Linked DNA regions of Homo sapiens: regions 1, 2 and 3 are each linked to region 4. Evidence: promoter capture Hi-C in 16 types of primary human blood cells and fetal thymus (Javierre and others, 2016). All regions are on one chromosome and are shown on one strand. The core of a region is centred on a gene start or on the middle of the fragment in contact, and the rest is flanking DNA. Distances in the headings are between cores, read along the strand shown. Region 1 holds the start of SLC38A7 (solute carrier family 38 member 7). Region 2 holds the start of SETD6 (SET domain containing 6, protein lysine methyltransferase). Region 3 overlaps CNOT1 (CCR4-NOT transcription complex subunit 1). Region 4 holds the start of AKTIP (AKT interacting protein).

What was found. Contacts are between HindIII fragments. The CHiCAGO score rates a contact against its expected background, and 5 or more counts as called.
Region 1: the fragment with the promoter of SLC38A7 here is called in contact with the fragment with the promoter of AKTIP in region 4 in 2 of 17 cell types (M0 macrophages and monocytes); the score reaches 10.8 in M0 macrophages.
Region 2: the fragment with the promoter of SETD6 here is called in contact with the fragment with the promoter of AKTIP in region 4 in 1 of 17 cell types (monocytes); the score reaches 7.5 in monocytes.
Region 3: a fragment that was not itself captured here is called in contact with the fragment with the promoter of AKTIP in region 4 in 3 of 17 cell types (activated CD4 T cells, fetal thymus and total B cells); the score reaches 7.8 in activated CD4 T cells.

Annotation. Positions count from the first base shown.
Region 1 is chr16:58,683,022-58,686,063 of GRCh38, forward strand. SLC38A7 (solute carrier family 38 member 7) reads right to left here and starts at 1,749. Exons shown (of 12, transcript NM_018231.3): 1 at 1,696-1,749; 2 at 934-1,157. RefSeq lists enhancers at 1,121-1,965, 1,476-1,535. The HindIII fragment of the contact is 5,837 bases long and covers 1-1,806 here.
Region 2 is chr16:58,513,849-58,516,868 of GRCh38, forward strand. It overlaps SETD6 (SET domain containing 6, protein lysine methyltransferase), which reads left to right and starts at 1,669. Exons shown (of 8, transcript NM_001160305.4): 1 at 1,669-1,716; 2 at 1,943-2,249; 3 at 2,354-2,495; 4 at 2,630-2,824; 5 at 2,960-3,020. The coding sequence starts at 1,690. It also overlaps a transcript of NDRG4 not described here. RefSeq lists enhancers at 1,344-1,513, 2,554-2,723 and a silencer at 1,634-2,293. The HindIII fragment of the contact is 14,988 bases long and covers 480-3,020 here.
Region 3 is chr16:58,626,478-58,629,234 of GRCh38, forward strand. All of the region lies in intron 1 of CNOT1 (CCR4-NOT transcription complex subunit 1), which reads right to left. Among named protein-coding and RNA genes, the nearest start is that of CNOT1, 2.0 kb to the right of the region's middle. RefSeq lists an enhancer at 2,426-2,757. The HindIII fragment of the contact is 1,705 bases long and covers 642-2,346 here.
Region 4 is chr16:53,501,647-53,504,667 of GRCh38, forward strand. AKTIP (AKT interacting protein) reads right to left here and starts at 1,563. Exons shown (of 10, transcript NM_022476.4): 1 at 1,501-1,563. It overlaps LOC124903690 (a long non-coding RNA gene), which reads left to right and starts at 2,734. Exons shown (of 2, transcript XR_007065069.1): 1 at 2,734-2,774. RefSeq lists enhancers at 759-1,260, 1,261-1,760, 2,221-2,320 and silencers at 1,031-1,330, 1,591-1,660, 1,681-1,920, 2,641-2,730. The HindIII fragment of the contact is 2,307 bases long and covers 1-2,028 here.

The DNA.
Region 1 (3,042 bases), core at 499-2,998, 5.2 Mb after region 4:
ACAAGCCCCCCACGCCTGTCATGTTTAAATTTTCTGTAGAGATGAGGAGGTCTCACTATGTTGCCCAGGCTGGTCTTGAACTCCTGGGCTCAAGCAATCCTGCTGCCTCGGCCTCCCAAAGTGCTGGGATTACAGGCGTGAGCCACAGCCCCCAGCCTGGTTTAGTCTTTATAGCCCAGAGGGAAAAAAAGGGAACTGAGCATATTCAGCCATAATGACTGCCCTAACCATTGGGCCACCCTCTCTGATGCCTTCAGCCCACTGGGGGTTTAAAATGACTAACAAGACCCCTTGGACTACTTCCCATTGCTCCTCCTGATGATGGACAAACAAAGCTGGGGACCATCCACTCATGAGAGGGAAAGGGTGAAAGTTCATGTGCTCTCAGCCATCTGTTATCAAGCATGGAACCAAGGGACATGGCACCAGAGGAAACATTCCTCTGCTGGCTCGAAACCCAGAAAGATCTGTCAGATGTCACAGGGCTTACACATCCTCTTACACATCCTGTCACCCAACCAGCAACTCAGCAAAATCAAAGCAGTGAGCAGCGAAGGCAGAGTCTTGGGACTCCCAGGCTTCCAGTGTAGCTAGAGAAAGAACCCTGCAAAGTGACCACTGCCAGAGCTGTGACCATCTCCTCCCCGCTGCTCACGTCACAGAGACAGAGGTCTACAGAGTGATTCGTCCAAGGTCACAAGGCTTGGTGCGGCTTCCTGACTCTCCAACCAAAATGTTTCCCTTGGGCACCCCTGCCCGAGTCCTGCACCATCCTCCAGCCTCTCCTGCCACCCACATGAGAGTGCAGGCTGGGGTCCTCGTGGAACTCAGAAGCTGGGGGTCCCACCTCTTGCAGATTCTCTGCCTTGGTTAAGACCTCTCGGCACCCCCACTGCTCACTGGCAAATTACTCAGCTCATTGTTGCACCTTACCTGCTCTTTCTCCCTGATGGGCTGTGCCAGAGGCGGTTGCTCCTTCTCCCCAAAGGTCTGGGATCTGATTCTCCTCACTTCCCTTTCTGGACCCAATTTCTTCTTTCTCAAGACTTTGCCTAAAATTTGCTGTCAGCAGAGGGAAGAGTTTGGGCTACTTCTGTGCTGGCTTCAGCAGAGCTGGAGGAAACTGAGCGGCTCTCACGCTTACTCATGAAATGGAGCTTCAGGACAGATAGGAAAACAGGCCCAGGAGGGAGAGGTTAGACTAAGGTCACAGTGGGTAGCTGGCAGAGCCAGAATAGAAGCCTGATGCCCACATGCTCAGGCCAGCGATGTAGGCCCCTCAGATCCCAACTGGAGTGTGCTCCCAGTCCAGCCTGGGGTTGGAGCCCTGAGATAGAAAGGGTGGGCTGCTTTGTGAGGTGAGGCTTTGTGAGGTGAGCCAGGGCGCACCCGGGCCAGGAGGCCGGGGCGGGGCGATTCCCAGGCCTGGAGCGAGAAGGGTGGGCTACTGTGGGGTAACCTGGGGAGGAGCTCCGGGACCCGATCCCGGCCTAGGACTGGGTGGAGACCCTCTGGCTGGGTAAAGGCGCGGCAGAGCTGGCGCAACAGAGGGACGGGCGTGGGGCGAGGACGCCAGGATCTGGACCCCTGCAGGGAAAGGGTCTGAGCTTTTCCGCGGTGGCGGGGACTGAGGGGCTCCACAGACCTCGGGGATCTAACACTTCCACCCTCCAGAGCCTGTCTCCGGCCACCTACCTTGGGGGATTCTTTCCCGAGCCGGCTGCGGAGACACGTGAGCATGCATCACATGACGCCCGCTCGGGCGGCCGCGGGACACGCTGGGAGTTGTAGTTTCCGCAAATGTGAAGCTTGGACAACACCAGCTCCCTGAATCCTCAGCCCGACAGCACTGCCCTGAGCCAGCCTCGCGTCCAGCCAGCTCGTGTTTATCCTCTTACTTTTAGTCTTGGCCTCTTGACCAAATCAAACACTGCTCCTTCCTCCAAGGAAGAGCATTAGGAGGTCTGGCCTCTTTGCCAGTCCCGGTGGCGGTGGGCCAAAGCTGTTTGGCCTCATTATCCTCCCGGTCTCTGTCCTTGCCTTCACGCCCATGGCCAGAGCACTGGAGTTTTTTTTTAATCAGTAATGTGGGGGACCTGGAGCCACGGTCTTTCCTGCAAGGGAGTGGGCTGGGGGCATGGTTACGACCCCATCGGTTTAGACTCTAGAACAGTTTTTGAGGGATTGTAGGTGCTCAGTAAATATTTGTTGAATGACGAAATGGGCATCCAGTCCTGGTTCTGTTCTTGGCTGTGTGTCACTCATAAATTGTCACGTAATCTCCAGCATCCCAATAGCCTCATCTCTGTTTTGTGGATATGCTCTCCACTGCACTTACCTCTCCATGCATCAGAGGTCCTCACCGATGAGGACACACTGGGAATCCTTAGAAACCCAAATCACACCTTTTTTTTTTTTTTTTTTTTTTTTTTTTTTGAGACAGAGTCTCACTCTGTCTCCCCGGCTGGGGTGCAGTGGCACGATCTTTGCTCACTGCAACCTCTGCCTCCCGGGTTCATGTGATTCTCCTGCCTCAGCCTCCCGAGTACCTGGGATTACAGGCATGCACCACCACTCCCAGCTAATTTTTGTATTTTTAGTAGAGATGGGGTTTCGCCATGTTGGCCAGGTTGGTCTCAAACTCCTGACCTCAAGTGATCCACCCACCTCAGCCTCCCAAAGTGCTGGGATTACAGGCATGAGCCACCGTGCCTGGCCTCCAAAAAGTTTATATAAATTGAATCATACTGGTTGAGTGCGGTGGCTCACACCTGTAATCCCAGCACTTTGGGAGGCCAAGGCGGGCTGATCACTTGAGGTCAGGAGTTCGAGACCAGCCTGGCCAACATGGCGAAGTCCTGTCTCTATTAAAAATACAAAAATTAGCTGGGCATGGTGGTGCACGCCAGTAGTCCCAGCTACTCGGGAGCCTGAGGCAGGAGAATCACTTGAACCCGGGGGGCGGAGGTGGCGGTGAGCAGAGATCGTGCCACTGCACTCCAGCCTGGGAGACAGAGTGAGACTCTGTCTCAAAAAAAAAAA
Region 2 (3,020 bases), core at 419-2,918, 5.0 Mb after region 4:
TCGGGAGGCTGAGGCAGGAGAATCGCTTGAACCTAGGAGGCAGAGGTGGTAGTGAGTGGAGATCGTGCCACTGCACTCCAGCCTGGATGACAGAGCAAGACTCTGCCTCAAAATAAAACAAAAAAACAAAATACAGCTCTCCAGAAAAAAATGCCTTAAAGACAAAACAAAACACCCCTGCCCTCCAAATCTCTTGCCTGAGTCACTACATTCCTTCAAAGATAAATGACCTACTCTTTGCCTTCTCCTAAACATACGATCATGTCTGACAGGGTTAATGATTATACTCTGCAATCTATAACCAGATATACTTATCCCTAAACTTTGATATGATTTTACACATACTAAATCTTCACCTATGTATAACCTAAACTAAAATACCGTGTTAGAGGAGCCTCACAAGATTACTCCTGGGCTACAGGCCTCAGTCTATAGTCCTCAATAAGGCTTCTAAATAAAACTAATTTTAATTATTTAAAAGCTTAATATTTTTTCTTTAGTCAACATACCAATCCTTACATTAATTCTACAGAGTAGGTATTATCTTAGTTTCGCAGGTGAGGAGACTAAGGTTCAGGAAAAAGGATTTGCCTGAGTAACAGACCAGGCCGCGCGCGGTGGCTCACGCCTGTAATCCTAGCACTCTGGGAGGCCGAGGCGGGGGGATTGCCTGAGCTCAGGAGTTCGAGACCAGCCTGGGCAACGCGGTGAAACCCCGACTCTACTAAAAATAAACACAAAAAATTAGCTGGGCATGGCAGCGTACGCCTGTAGTCCCAGCTACTTGGGAGGCTGAGGCAGGGGAATTGCTTGAACCCGGGAGGTGGAGGTTGCAGTGAGCCGAGATCGCACCACTGCACTCCAGCCTGGGCGAGACTCCCGTCTCCCCAACGCGCCAAAAAAAAAAAAAAAAAAAAGGAAAAAAAAAAAAAACTGAGTGTTGAGCTGCGGCGTTGCTTGGCTTCAAAACCCATTCCTGTAACCTCTATATTCACAGCCTCATTTTCTTACATTTAACAGCATGCTACTTCCCCAGGTTTAACCACCATTTGTTTTATTCATTTATTTACCCAATAGGTAGATATTGAGTCCCTACTATGTCAGCTAATAAAACCCACCACGTGCTATGCAGCAGATTAAAAACGAGGATGTACTGGCAAATAAGGGCAGAGAGGATCTATTCTAGATCCAGGAGCCCTCTAGGCCACGCCACTCTGAAACACACACGAAAACTGCTCTGAACGAATACCACCAGTAAAAGGGTTCCATGGCCATCGGCAACAAGGGGTCGAGATCAGGAGGTCGCTCGCCGCCCAGTTGCGTCGCTCACCACCGGCCGGCCACCAGACCCTCGGCTTCCGATCCAGAAACCGTATTTTGTTCTTGCACCCAGACCGCAAGAAGCCTCAGCCCTCGGGGACAGACCGAAGGCCAGGGCTGTACCTGGCTCAGAACCAGGCGCCAAGCGGCACGGGACTCTCCTTCTGCACTCGCAGCGCGTGAGTGCAATTGGAGATCCTGGACTCAAGATGTTTTCATGAGGAACGATTCCAGCCCGCGGTAACTCCGGCCAGTCTGCAGCGTGGACGACAAAACAGGCACCACGTGGTTCCGGCGCCGGGGCGGGGCCAGAGACGCCGGAAGTGACCGCGCGGTGCGCCGGCCCGCGAGGAAACGCGCTCTTAGACCATGGCGACCCAGGCGAAGCGTCCACGGGTGAGTGGCGGGCGCGGGGTCCAGCCTTTTCCTCCGCGCCTCACCCCTTCTCCGTTCGCAGAACCGTCCGCCTGCGCCCCCTCCGCTCCCTCCCGCGGGTCCCGCGCCCCTCTCCGCTCGTCCCCTCCTCCACCCAAAGCCCGTTCTGCGCTCGCGCCGCGGTCTCCTGCAGTTCCCAGCGGCCTCTCTGGGGGTCGGACCTGGTCACTGCGCGCACTTATCTCAGGTGGCGGGGCCCGTGGACGGCGGCGACCTGGATCCTGTGGCCTGCTTCCTGAGCTGGTGCCGGCGGGTGGGGCTGGAGCTGAGTCCCAAGGTGAGCGAGCGAGCCGGCGGGCGGAGGACCCGCGGCGGGGCGCGGGCTGCCCTGACCAGCCCTCCTGCTCAGGTGGCGGTCAGCCGGCAGGGCACGGTGGCCGGCTACGGCATGGTGGCCCGGGAGAGCGTGCAGGCCGGAGAGCTGTTGTTCGTGGTGCCGCGGGCCGCGCTCCTGTCGCAGCACACCTGCTCCATCGGCGGCCTGCTGGAGCGAGGTGGGCACGGCGGCGGGCTAGGGCCCTGGGGCGGGGCGGGGCGGGGCGGGGCGGGCCCGGCCCGCGAGGCCGCGCCGGGGCGCTCACACCTGTGTCTTCCTCAGAGCGAGTTGCGCTGCAGAGCCAGTCGGGCTGGGTGCCACTGCTGCTGGCGCTGCTCCACGAGCTGCAGGCCCCGGCCTCACGCTGGAGGCCCTACTTTGCGCTCTGGCCCGAGCTGGGCCGCTTGGAGCACCCGATGTTCTGGTGAGAGCCTTGGGAGGGGTTGGGGAGCGCCTGCACCGTAGCCTGCTGCAAGAAGTTTCCCCGCCCCTGCACCAGTCCTACCCAGTAAAGTGTGTGAAGGAATGAAGGGAACCTGGGTGTGGGTGTCCCTGCAGGCCAGAGGAGGAGCGCCGGTGCCTGCTCCAGGGCACAGGCGTACCTGAGGCCGTGGAGAAGGATTTGGCCAACATCCGCAGCGAGTACCAGTCCATCGTGCTGCCCTTCATGGAAGCCCACCCCGATCTCTTCAGCCTCAGGGTTCGCTCCCTAGAACTCTACCACCAGCTGGTGGCCCTTGTGATGGCCTATAGGTCAGTGGGTGGGGCCTCTGAGGACGGAACCCTTTTCTTTACAACTCTATAGAGGGACAAAAGTGGAAAAACAGTGAAATCCACCCCCAGTCCCTCACCCAAGACAGGGCCTTAGCCAGGTTCTGTCAATGGCAGCTTTCAGGAACCACTGGAGGAAGAAGAGGATGAAAAGGAGCCCAACTCCCCCGTGATGGTG
Region 3 (2,757 bases), core at 244-2,743, 5.1 Mb after region 4:
TAGGCTGGGCACGGTCACTCATGCCTGTAATCCCAGCACTTTGGGAGGCCGACGCGGGTGGATCACGAGGTCAAGAGTTCGAGACCAGCCTGACCAACATAGTGAAACCCCGTCTCTACCAAAAATACAAAAATTAGCTGGGTGCAGTGGTGCGCGCCTGTAATCCCAGCTACTTGGGAGGCTGGGGCAGGAGAATCGCTTGAACCCAGGAGGCGGAGGTTGTAGTGAGCTGAGATCGCACCACTGCATTCCAGCCTGGGCAACAGGGTGAGACTCCGTCTCAAAAAAAAAAAGGCAGACTACTATTTTTGTTAATGTGGGACAAAATACTCATAACAAATATTTTGCAAAATTTTTTTTTAATTTAATTTTCTTTTTTGTAAAGACAGGGTCTCACCATGTTGCCCAGGCTGGTCTCTAACTCCTAGTCTCAAGCATCCTCCTCCCTCATCCTCCCAAAAAGCTAGGATACAGGCTTGAGCCACTTGCCTGGGCCAAAAAAATTAGTCCCAAAATATGACAGCACTCAATTAGAATTATTGTGGACAAATTCCATTCTCTGGTATTGGGTACCAAAGACGTGTTTGTTATTACACAGAAAGAAATAATCAAGTTCATAAATTCAAACTGGTTAAAAAGAAAGCTTCTCGGCTGGGCACCGTGGCTCACGTCTGTAATCCCAGCACTTTGGGAGGGTGAGGCGGGTGGATCATGAAGTTAAGAGTTCGAGACCATCCTGGCCAACATGGTGAAACCCTGTCTCTATTAAAATACAAAAATTAGCTGGGTGTGGTGGCGGGCACCTGTAGTCCCAGCTACTCGAGGGGCTGAGGCAGAATTGCTTGAACCCTGGAGGCAAAGGTTGCAGTGAACCGAGATTGTGTGCTGCTGCACTCCAGCCTGGTGACAGAGCGAGACTCCATCTCAAAAAAAAAAAAAAAAAAAAAGTTTCTCATAACCAGATCAGAATCTATCCTAAAACATACTCAGAAAAAGTAACATGCAAGGTAATTTGAAATCAGACTTTAAAGCATGTTTTGAAAAGATGGCAAGCATTTCCATTTGTTTTCATAGCTTTTTTTAATGACTTGACTCCAAATAAGAAGGATGTCTTATTATTTAGCTTGACAACATCTATGTTAAAGAGACTAGGATCTAAACCCCGAAGAGAAATTCAGAAACTAGAAAAAAAGAAAATGAACCCGGGGTGTTAAGCTGGGAACCAAAAAGAGCACATTTCAATTCTTTTCCACCGTAATGCCACAAAACCGTACCTTAAAACTTCTAAGATTACAATCTTAGGTAAGAAAAGGAAATATTTTCAGTTACAAATAGACATGTCTTTGCGCCTTCATTCTAGACTTTTTTTTGAGACGGAGTCTCCCCGTCCCCCAGGCTGGAGTGCAGTAGCTCTATCTCGGCTCACTGCAACCTCCGCCTCCCGGGTTCAAGCAATTCTCCTGCCTCAGCCTCCCAAGTAGCTGGGATTACAGGCACCTGCCACCACGCCCGGCTAATTTTTGTATTTTTAGTAGAGACGCGGTTGTGACATGTTGGCCAGGCTGGTCTCGAACTCCTGACCTCTGGTGATTCACCTACCTTGGCCTCCCTAAGTGCTGGGATTACAGGCGTGAGCCACCGCGCCCAGTCGATTCTAGACTTGTTTCCACTAAGACTTGGGGAACCCACACTTGTTGAAAAGGAACTAACTCTCCAAACTAGTTTTATCAACATGCTATCATTTCAGTCAAAGCACAGCTAGCCACCTAAAACCATGTATCATCAATGCATATTCTCCTTAGACAAGGTAACAATTTGCAGTATCCTAAAACATAATTATTTAAACTGTTACCACATGTCTTCTTAATAGCTAAAATACTCTGCTGCCAATCTTTAAAAGGGTAGGAATACCAACCGGGACCACAGATCACTTAAGTATTAAACCCAAGTACCTATAGAAAAAAATTGTTCTTAATCTGTTTGACCTTCCTCCTAATATTTTACTTGCCTTCCCTCATTTTTTTAATCCATGTATTCCCTATTCCTATCAAAGGGGCTGTCATAAGGAAAACGTTCGGCATTGTTTCAAACAGTATAATTATATTCACTCAATCACTGACTTAAAAAAAAAAAAAAACCCAAGTAGTCACAGGCTATCGAATTGTAGAGAAATCGGCAGGGTAGGTTAAGCATTGTTACTCAGTTTTCAGGAAGAAAACAGACTTTATTAGAGTCCTAAGAAATGTGACATTTGATTAACTTCATGGGAAAAGTTTGTCATAAAGTTTATTTTAAATACAACATTTTCAAACGCACAGATGTCAAGCATTCTTTTTTAATCTACAAAGCTTACTCCTCGGGGAGTTAGTATCTGTGAGCCCTCTTGGGTGAATTCTGCAAAGGAGGTGGTACTGAAAAAGTATTATTTGTGTTTGGCCTTAAGTACCTCTACAAGACCTGCCGTGGATCTTATCAGCCTTGAGGCCTACAAGTGCTCAGCTCACTAGCGGGACACTTGTCCTGGGTGAGCAGGACCGCCACTACTGCAGACACCGGACCGAGTAGGTGGGGGCCAACTTCAAAGAAAGTGTGAGCGCCCAGGCGCGCGAGTGGAACAAAACCTGTAGCAAGTAATAAGGAAGTGCTTGCTCCCGCCCGCCCTTCCCATCCGGGGACACCCGAAACCTGGGGGGCTTTGACAACGTGCTGGGGGCGTAAGACGGGGAGAGTGGCAGCTCCGAGTACACGGAGAAGAAC
Region 4 (3,021 bases), core at 313-2,812:
ATGTCCCCAATCAGCAATAATTTGTCTTCTCTGACGAGCTTGTGACATCCAGGGACGTACCCAACCCAGGTCATCCATACCTTGCCAGTGCCCATTACTGCTGTTTTGTTTTCCAAGAGAAAATGCCACCCAGTAATTAAATCAGAGGAATGAAGATCCTGGCTCTTCTACTAGCATGGATAACATGCAATAAGTAACAACAGTTCTCCGCAAATCTGCCTTTAAAGGTGAGTATGACACACTGAATATACTTGAGATATCAAAAATGTGCGGGGGCATGTTCCCCTTTGGCTCAAATGAAGACACTGATTTTCAGATCTAGCAGTAATGTGCAGCACCCCAGTGTCCTCTAGGACACACCTAACACGGGACCGGATCCCTTGGGACACAGTGGTGTGCTCCACAACATACATTTAATGGGCTGGTGCAAACCTGTAAAGTCTCTTAAAGGTCTAACGCGTTAGGATTCTCTTTAAGAATCCAGTAAATTTTGTCCCCAGTTCTGCCTGTCATTAAGCAGGAGGTATTGTCTTCTGCTGCCTAACTTTGCTATGGATCTTTTAATCCAATGTTTCCAGCAGCAACATAATCACGAGAAACTGTAGCACACTTTTCAGGGTCTAGTCTAGGACAAGCACAGCATACATGTTCTGAGAGGAATGACATAGATGGAAGCAAGACATGTTACATCCTTGTCACTTGGAAACAATTTTAGAATTTCTGCCTGTTTGGCCACGGCTGCATTCCTTTACATCACCCAGCTGAGAAGTCTGGGTCTTCAGCCTGCGCGAATGACAGTGCGTGGCAGAGCTAAAACTAGGCTAAAACATGAGTGCTGCTGTTACTCTACATGCCACAGCGCACTCACATCACCCCGAATCGGACTTAAGAAATTACACGTTAAGAGGAGACAGAGCAGGGGCCAGAAAAAAAAAGATGAAAACGGCCCGGGCCAGGCTCGCTGGGGACAGCCGGGACCCGCGGCGGCCTCGGACCGGCACCCTCACCGCGGGCGGAAACCCGTCTCTGAGCACTCAGGGAATCTGGACAAACCTGTCTCGAGGTGATGCAAGGCGGGGGCCCTGTCCTGGCCTCGCAGCTAGCTCGATGCTGGCCCGGGAGCCGCGGGCCCCTCCAGTGGGGGGGCTCTGGGGCCCGGCGACGCCCCCTTAACCAGAGCTCGGGGTCGGGACCCGGCCGGGGAGGGCGGGCACGGGCCGGGGCGAGCCAGCTGGGCCCCCCTCTCCCTCGGGCCGGGCCAGCCCAGCTCCAGCCGCAGTCCCCAGCAGCAGTCCCGGGCTGCGAGGCGGCCAGCGCAGCAGGTGCCTGCAAACGCGCACAGGTGCCCGGCCCCGCCTCCGTGTCCCACTGCGGCCGCCGTCGCCGAGTCGCGAGCGCCTAGAAAGATGGACAAATGCCGGGCCCGTGGAGGCTGGCGGCCAGATTTACAGACACCTCAGCCCTCGCGTACCCACCAGCCTGCCGGGCAGTAAGCCTCACCCCAGTGCCTTCAATGCAGAGCTCCTGGCTGCCAAGCGCCGCCGCGGCCCGACAGCATCTCCCGCCGCAGCGCCAGCCCTGCCCCTGCTTGATCCCCGCCCCGCCCCACCCCGCCCTGCCCTGCCCTGCCCTGCCCTCGGCAGCGGGCTCCGCCCCCTGCTGCACGATCCTGGGGCCCGAGGCTTCCGCCTGGCCTCCCGGCGCCAACTGGCTCTCACACCTGCCCGTCAAAGACGTTCTTCCGGGGGCGTTGGGAAGAACACACTCGGTCCTGCAAATCAAATCACCCCGGTTTGGGTGGGACTGCACTTGACCCTCCCCTTACGTAACAGCGCCTGGGACGGCCTGTCAGTCATGGAAGTATCGGCCCCCCGGGGAGGGATGGGGCAGAGACAAACAAGCGCCGGGTCACAATTGGCCAGGGCGTCTGCCAGTCACCACGGAGACCTTCCCGGAGGTTTATTCGCACAGCCCACAGCGCAACCGCCATGCGCAGGGGCTGGGGCATACGCTAACGTCTGCAAGCCAAGCTTTTGGGGAGGGCCGGGCCGCGCGACTGCCCAGTGGCTCCCATCGCTAGGTCCTACTGCGTTGGGCGGCGCTGCGAGGCCCGAGGCCGCCACGTCGGGCCCACAGGGTACCAGGGGTCAGAAGGACACTTGGCGTGGCATCAAGAAACGCCCGTTCTCTCCATCAGTGCAGGAGCTGAAGGCTGGAGCTGAAGGGAGCTCAGCTCCAAGTGGGCCCTGGGCACTAGAGCAGCCAGAGGAGCTTTGTAAATCTGTGTGTGTCGGCCCCGACCTGCAGCATCCGAGTGGGGGCCGGGGGCTGGGGGGAGGGGGGAGGCTGAGGACCAGGAATCCACATCTGTCACAGTTCGCTGCTGATTCTGGCGCACACTGAAGTTGGAGAACCTCTCCCATAGCAACATAGTTCCTGGTCTTTTTTTTTTTTTTTTTTTTTAATTCACACGCTCTCATTTGGACCTCCCGTCTGCTTTCCCATGGAGGTCTCTCTCTGGCCTAATTCTGTGACTGCTGCCAGCTGCTTTCCAGGCCTGTTCTTACCAACGGTGCCTCCCCGTGGTTAGTCCGTCCAATCTCGGCACTCCACTTCCACACTTGCGCGACAGCCCTCTCCCCGCAAGCCCCTGCCCCTTTTCTAGACACCAGAGGCACTGACCTGTCTGTGACACCGCCTCAGTGTCTTACACTCAGAAGCCGCATTCTCTGGCCGGGTTGTTTGGTCCATTTTTGGTTGCCTCTGAGATTCTGGTAAGTGACTTATTAAAGGGCAGGAAGCCAAATTCTCCTGATGTTAATCCCAAGGGTTGGTTCTGAAACCCAGCTTCCTCCCCTAGCTGAAAACACTTCTGAGCCACTTCCTTTTGTCCCCTTAGGACACATTTAGGAATGTTATCATGCCTTTTAATACGAGTCTTAATACAGAAAGGCAGGCAAGCAGGAAATCCTTTTTTCAGGCCACAGGTGGTCTCCTTTGGCACCTCTGTGGCCCATTTCC